2 separate regions of the Homo sapiens genome follow, and region 1 is linked to region 2. Evidence: promoter capture Hi-C in 16 types of primary human blood cells and fetal thymus (Javierre and others, 2016). All regions are on one chromosome and are shown on one strand. Each heading gives the region's core, a stretch centred on a gene start or on the middle of the fragment in contact. The rest is flanking DNA. Distances are from core to core; before and after follow the strand shown.

Evidence for each region. Contacts are between HindIII fragments. The CHiCAGO score rates a contact against its expected background, and 5 or more counts as called.
Region 1: a fragment that was not itself captured here is called in contact with the fragment with the promoter of MATN1 in region 2 in 1 of 17 cell types (naive B cells); the score reaches 5.4 in naive B cells.

The regions. Positions count from the first base shown.
Region 1 is chr1:31,011,189-31,014,775 of GRCh38, reverse strand. All of the region lies in intron 3 of PUM1 (pumilio RNA binding family member 1), which reads left to right. Among named protein-coding and RNA genes, the nearest start is that of SNORD103C, 45 kb to the right of the region's middle. The HindIII fragment of the contact is 703 bases long and covers 1,243-1,945 here.
Region 2 is chr1:30,721,978-30,725,249 of GRCh38, reverse strand. MATN1 (matrilin 1) reads left to right here and starts at 1,665. Exons shown (of 8, transcript NM_002379.3): 1 at 1,665-1,792. The coding sequence starts at 1,699. All of the region lies in intron 2 of MATN1-AS1 (MATN1 antisense RNA 1), which reads right to left. The HindIII fragment of the contact is 11,974 bases long and covers 1-3,272 here.

The DNA.
Region 1 (3,587 bases), core at 345-2,844, 290 kb before region 2:
GCTCTGTCGCCCAGGCTGGAGTGCAGTGGTGCGATCTTGGCTCACTGTAACCTCCGCCTCCTGGGTTCAAGTGATTCTGCTACCTCAGCCTCCCGAGTAGCTGGGATTATAGGCGCCTGGCCACTACGCCTGGCTGATTTTTGTATTTTTAGTAGAGACAGGTTTTCACCATGTTGTCCAGGCTGGTCTTGAACTCCTGACCGCAAGCAATCCGCCCGCCTCAGCCTCCCAAAGTGCTGAGATTACAGGCCTACTTTCAACTTTTTTAATTCTTTTTTTTTTAATTTTAATGTTTAAAAATAGAGATTGGGTCTTGGCATGTTGCTCAGGCTGGTCTTGAACTCCTCAAGTGACCCTCCCACCTCAGCCTCCTAAAGTGCTGGGGTTACAAGCATGAGCCACTGCATCCAGCCTCGACTTTTTTTTATTTTTACAAGCACTTTGAATGTAGATTTTTTTTTTTTTTTTTTTTTTGGAGACTGGATCTTGCTCTGTTGCCCAGGCTAGAGTGCAGTGGCACAATCATGGCTCACTGCAGCCTTGACCTCCTGGGCTCAGGTGATCCTCCCACCTAGGTCAGCCTCCTGAATAGCTAGGACCACAGGCATGTGCTACCACACTTGGCTTTTTTAAGTTTTTGTAGAGATGGGCTGTCACATGTTTTCCAGGCTGGTCTTTAACTCCTAGACTCAAGCTATCCTCCTGCCTCACCTCCCAAAGTGCTGGGATTGCAGGAATCAGCCATCATACCTGGCTGTGACTTTTGATACGTATGTAGTTTCTGAGGCCCTTCCAAAAGAATTACGCTAACCAGGAATGAATGAACTTGGCTTTTCTTAAAGATATGTTTTAATAAGTTAAAGCTTTAAATAAAGCTTTAGTATAACTTAATATCAGTATAGTTCTTAGTATTTATAAAAGCACTTCATATACTATCTCACTTGATTTCACAACAACAGTCTGTGGTATGGAGAGACTACATAAGTTGTGAAAAATACAAAATTTTTACAAGTAAGACTACCACCTGTGATTATCAGTGGTTACCAATCAAACTTCCTCATTTCAGTTAGTTCTGAAAGGTCCTTTCTCTGAGTTGATGTCATCTTCTCTTAATGTACTGAGAGTGTGGTGAGATATATACTAAGAGATTAATAATTGTTTTGGTTGTTGGTCTGTCTTACCAGCTAGTTAAATATCAAGCATTTGTTTCCTGCATTGGCTGCATTCCAGTGAAACTAAGCTTGTGTTGTAAGTTAGAGATGCTAGATAATAACATGATCAAACTGATCACGTCTGCAGGGTTGTAACATCCATGTTAGTAGTATTTCTTAAGATGCTCAATTTCTGCTCTGAGAGATGCTCTGTGCAGCCTGTATTGAGTGTGTAAGCAGTTACCTAATATTTTATTCCTTTTGAGTACAGAGTAGTTGCTGGAGAGCCCTTTTACTGTTGAGATCATCAGTAAACCTCATTGATAAATCCCTATTCAAATATTAGTGGCGGTATGGTCAAACAAGTCCAGGCAATAATTGTCTTGCCTCTGCAGTTCCTGAAAAGCCGTAATCATGGTTCTTGTAGTGTTGTTTTGTTGGGGTAGTTAATGTAATGAGGTTTGTACTGACATGGCCTAGGTGATGCCATGATCACTGTGTCTGATAGTTTGACATAGGAGCATTTCATTGACAAATCATTAGTATTGTGATGTCTATTGGCTGCTACTTTGCTCTTTTAAAGAAGGATAGTAGCTGATTTTTTGTTTACTGTTTCAGCATTGTATTATGTCATTACATGTGTTATCTCTTTCATTGTACACAATAGGTCATTTTATAGGTGAGAAAAAGCAGAAGAGGATAAAATTCACACAGCTGGGATTTAAAACTAGTTTAAAATAAAGTGATTTCAGAGCATTCATGGGTCTTTATCACTGTTCTTAAAATAAGAAGCTTAGAGTTTCTTGATATTCTCCACTTTTTATTGTCTTAATCCATGTTTTAAGGGTTCTTGGTGTAGGGGTTTATGACATGATTGATTGTTAAGTGTTAAGTGTGGTTTTGCGTATTGTTCTTTTTTGTTAGATGGAAAGGAAAAAAGGTGTTTCCAGACAAATTTAAAAGAAGTGTCTCAAGTGGCTGACATTGCTTGTAAACCAGTGCTTGACTTCTATTTTGTTTTCCAGAAGCCTCATAGATAAGCTTACTGAATTTTTTTTTTTTTTTTTTTTTTACTTTTCATAAGTTTTTTTATTTTATAAACTTACGATTCAGGGTGGGATAAACAGTGTACGTGTGTGTGTTTCTCCCAGAGATTTGAGAGCACACACTATTGGTGGGGCAGTTAGGAATTCCACTTAATGTTTCATTACAAGAAAGAGTACAAGGTCTATTTATTTTATTGCTGGGGATGATAGGACTCCCCAAGTCATGGTTCTCAGTTTGTAGATCTTGAAATGGACTGTTATTACTAATTCAGATGACTGGGTTGCGATATTGACCCCACACTAACCAGAACAACAAGAGGCTAATGTATGAAAACCAAAATGCAGTCTGCTGATTTTTTTTTTTTAAGGAAAAAAAACAACTCTTAGATGGACAAGGATGGTTGTGTTTGGTGATTGGCATGGTTGGCTATAGGAGGAAGCCAGTTCTTTAAGAAGGTGGCTTGGTAAGCAGAGTTGGAGCCAGGGAGATTACTTGGGTGTTTTTAGTGTCCAGTGTAATTAAGCTACTATCTAACCAGATGCATTAATTGCTTTGATAAGAATAGGCTTCTTTGTGCATCATATGCCCTGCCCTTAAATGTGTCACCTGGATAATACTGGCTACATCTGATTCCTTGGGTCTCTTTTGCTTTTGTTGGACCAATTCCTAATTCCTGTTATCTTCTTTTGGAATTGTCACATCATTTAATCCTCTTACTGCTAAGTTATTCTTTAAAACAAACTCTACATCTCTCTTGTGATCTGTTACTTTTCGCCTTGTCAAAAAAACTAGTCTTTATTTCCAGATTCTTGATGGGGTGGATAGGAACTATCTTTTCATAGGTTGGATGCATTTACATTTTTGGTTATTGTGTGTTAAGTGAAGATTTGGCAACTGCTGGTATTTATGCCAGTGGGTTGGCAAACTAGGATATTTTACCCAACGCTGTGGATGATGTTACCTCCAGAGAGCTTACTGTTGAATTTGAAATTGTACTTGGATAACACATTATCATTTGGTTTTATAATTCAGTAGTTTCTAACTCCTTTTAATATGATCAGATTTGAACAGTTAGGTATCTTTTAGCTGACTGTTGAATATAAGTGATTGCTACTAATTCTCAGTAAGCTCAACATGTCTAAATTGATTTGATTTTGCCGAGTTAAAAAAGCCAGTCTTTTACTTTTTTTCAATTGAAAAGGATTTTAGTTTCATCACTTACATTTAAATATTAGAAATGGAACAAGAAGTGTTTCTTGAAAACAGACTCCTAAAGAAGTGTTTCAAATATACAAAAATACTTCCACATATTCACAACAGTGTTATTGCTGCTTAACAAATCACCCTAAAATTTAGTGGCTTAAAACAGCACAGTGTGTGTGTGTGTGT
Region 2 (3,272 bases), core at 416-2,915:
CAGTTTCTCCATCTGACAAATGGGCCAAGAGACTCAAATCTGCTGACTTCACAGGTTTGTTGGGTGAGCAAATGAGATAGAGTGATAGAATGAGTAACTGCCATGTCAAGGGTGGAAGGGATTGTTATAATTATTGCTAAAGAGTGTGGTAGCGGTGAGTTGGGTCTGCTGCACCCAGCAGTCGCTTTTTGTCTGTACATTTCCTTTTATTGAGGTATAATTTACACAGAGTGAAGTGCATAGGTCCCAAGTCTTAGGATTCTGCCTCCTGGAGCAATGACAATCCTTTAACTCCATTTCCACTTCTGTCCCCCTCTTGCCCCTCACATGGGGCAGGCAGATCAAGAACGACCATTCCCACTGCACCATGGCAAGCTGAGGCTCAGAGAGGTTAAGTCACCAGCTCCAGGTCACACAGCCAGTTAGGAGCAGAAGTGGCTTTGAACCTGGATCTCTCAGGTAGCCAAGCCCATGCTCTTTCTGCTCTATCTCATGAACTACTTGACCCAAATGCAAAGAAGGGGATCGTTCCTGCTGATGTTACTTTGTTTAGAAGGCTTTATCTTTGCCTTCTCTGTGCTGGGCCTGATGCAGAGTTGAATCCACTGGCTGACAGGTGAGGTGGGCCAAGCAGGGACCCACAGGGGGAAGAGATGGGCAGGGAGAAGCCACCTACATCAAGCTACACTGAGACAGCAGCATGGCTGAGAGCCGGGCCTGGGGCTCTATCCTGGCAATAACACTTCTTAGCTGTGTAACTTCAGACAAGTTATTTTACCTCTCTGTTCTTTAACAGTAGCTGCTTTAAAAAGTTGTCAAGAGGATTAACTGAGAAACCTCATCTAACTCCTTTGCTCCTTGAATCAACCCTAGGAGGCGCTATTACCATCCCTAGTTTCCAGATGAGCAATCTGAGACATGAGAGGTGAAGTCACTTGCCCATGGTCACACAGGTGGTTTGCTGGTATAGCAAACCCAGGTAACCTGGCTCCCAAGTCTGTGCTCTTAACCATGGTCTCCACTGCCCTGCCCATACTAACAGTGAAGGTACATGTTAGCCCTAATTATGACCTTGAAAGATTCTACAAGGCAGAGAGTTAGTGAGAGGAAAGGATTCTGGGCAGATGGCCCTGCATGTGTGATGGCCTGGAGGCCTTCGAGGAGAATCCAGGGGTAGCTGGAGAGCAGGGCGTGTGCGGAGAGCAGGGCACAGTGAGGCTGGGGAAGGGGAAGTGAATTTAATGAGAAACTTGGGGTTGTGAGTGGGGGAAGGATTTGGGTGTGGGATGAAGGTGCAGGACAGGGCTGGGCCGGGCCATTGGACTCAGGTATGCCTAGGCTTGGGGTGGAGCTTCAAGGCAGCGCGGGCTCCAGCCCCTGGAAGAGCCACCCCCCACCCACCTGAGATTTCCCAAATTCCAGCTGCCGCTCTAGTTGCTTCTGCAAGCAAAGGAGCCCTTGTGGTCAGAGGGGCCTCTGAAGCCTGGGCCAGGCTCTCCCGCCCTCTCAGGGCACACACACCTCCATTCAGCCCAAGCCCCGCCCTTTGGGGGGGCTGGGGGCCAGGGCGGGCTGCCCCCACGTCAGTCGTCAGTTGGGGGCCACCTGACCCAAAGGCTGGGCGGGCAGTGGGGTTGATAAGACCTGGACCCCACTGGTCCCACAACCGTGCCGGCTGCTGCCCGTGCTGCCAGAACTATGAGGGTCCTCTCTGGCACTAGCCTCATGCTCTGCAGCCTGCTGCTGCTGCTCCAGGCCCTGTGCAGCCCTGGCCTCGCCCCCCAGTCCAGAGGTGAGGGGGCTTGCGTGAGATGGGGGCTACTGAGCTAGTGGGCCCTGACCCTCAGCACTGGGGGCTGGGTACCGATATGGCAGGGAGCACACGGGATCCAGGATGGGGAAGGGAGCAGGGCGGCAGTGGTGGGCAGTGGGCTGGTGCAGGAGCAGACAGGGACCATGGTGCTTATAAGGGTCAGGGCAGGGGTGCTCCTCAGCCCTCAGGGACCATGCATGAGGCAGGGACCTTGGTCTTCCAGGTCTCTGGGGAGCAGAAGCTACTCAGAGAGCTGGCTGACGTCTGGAGCTGCACCAAGCCCAGGGCTGAGCCCATGGCTCTTTGATGACAGCAGACCTGGGATGCCAAGAGCTCATGCCCCCTTTGCAGGTCCTTCCAGCCTTGGGCTCCCTGGGGGCAATAACACCCCCCAGAGTTTCAGGTTTGGGCACTGAGTCCTGGAATGCCCATTCTTCCTGTACAGATGGGGAAACTGAGGTCAGTGAGGGCCTAAGACCACACAGTGAGATAGCGCCAGAGCCTCTAGGTTATTGATCTACTGCTGTACGGTGTGGCCAATTCCCTTTCCCTCTTTGGGTCTCAGTTTACCCATTTGTAGCCTTAGCGAGTAGACAGCAGGGAGCCTGCTGCATGGTGATTTCTAAGGTCTCCTGAGGAACTCTGATGTCCAGAGCCCCAGTCTAGGGCACTGTGAGTTACTGTGACTTGGGGGTTGGGACGGCCCTGCACGTTTCCCCTTTCCTCTTTGGGATTGGCTCTGCTCAGTTCAGACTCCGCATGGGATGGGGAGGGAAGGGCCTTTGTAGTGAGACCTTCCTGACTGCAGGCCCAGGCCAGTGACAGTAGCCTTATTCTCTCCACTGGACATGTGAGATCACGGAGGCTCAGAAAGGTGCAATGATCTGCCCAGGGCCCCACAGAGTGGCTGAGCCAGGATTTGAACCCAGGCCTGAACTCACTCTGACCCTGCATACTTCCCAGCACAGGGTGCTGCCTTCTTGGGTCTCTGGAGGACATTGCTCCTCGGGGGTGTGTCTTGGTGTGCACCTGATCAGGCTGCCGAGGTGGCCACCAGGAATTCCTGCTCCTTTTCCCTGTCTTTGGCAACCCGCCAGCAGGCGCTGCCAGGCTGAGGGAAACTGGTTCCACTTTGGTGATTTGCTTTGATGCTCAGATGAAAGAGGCCATGTTGACGGGCACTGCTTTGGCTCTCAAGCCTGTGCCCATGCCTGGAGGGCCCATCCTTGGTGCCCTCCTGCCCAGCTAGAAGAAATAGCTGCCCTTGTTTCTGGCAGCAAGTCTGGGCTGAAACCTAAATGTGTTTTCAAGGCCGCAGGGTCCTTTGCCACCCCTGGAATACTCATTGCTTGCCTGGCCCCCTGCTGGCTCCTCAAAACATCCTGTAAGGAGGGATTGCTAGCTCACTGCTCAGATGAGGAAACTGAGGCTCAGAGAAGTGAAGCAAATGGCCCAAGGC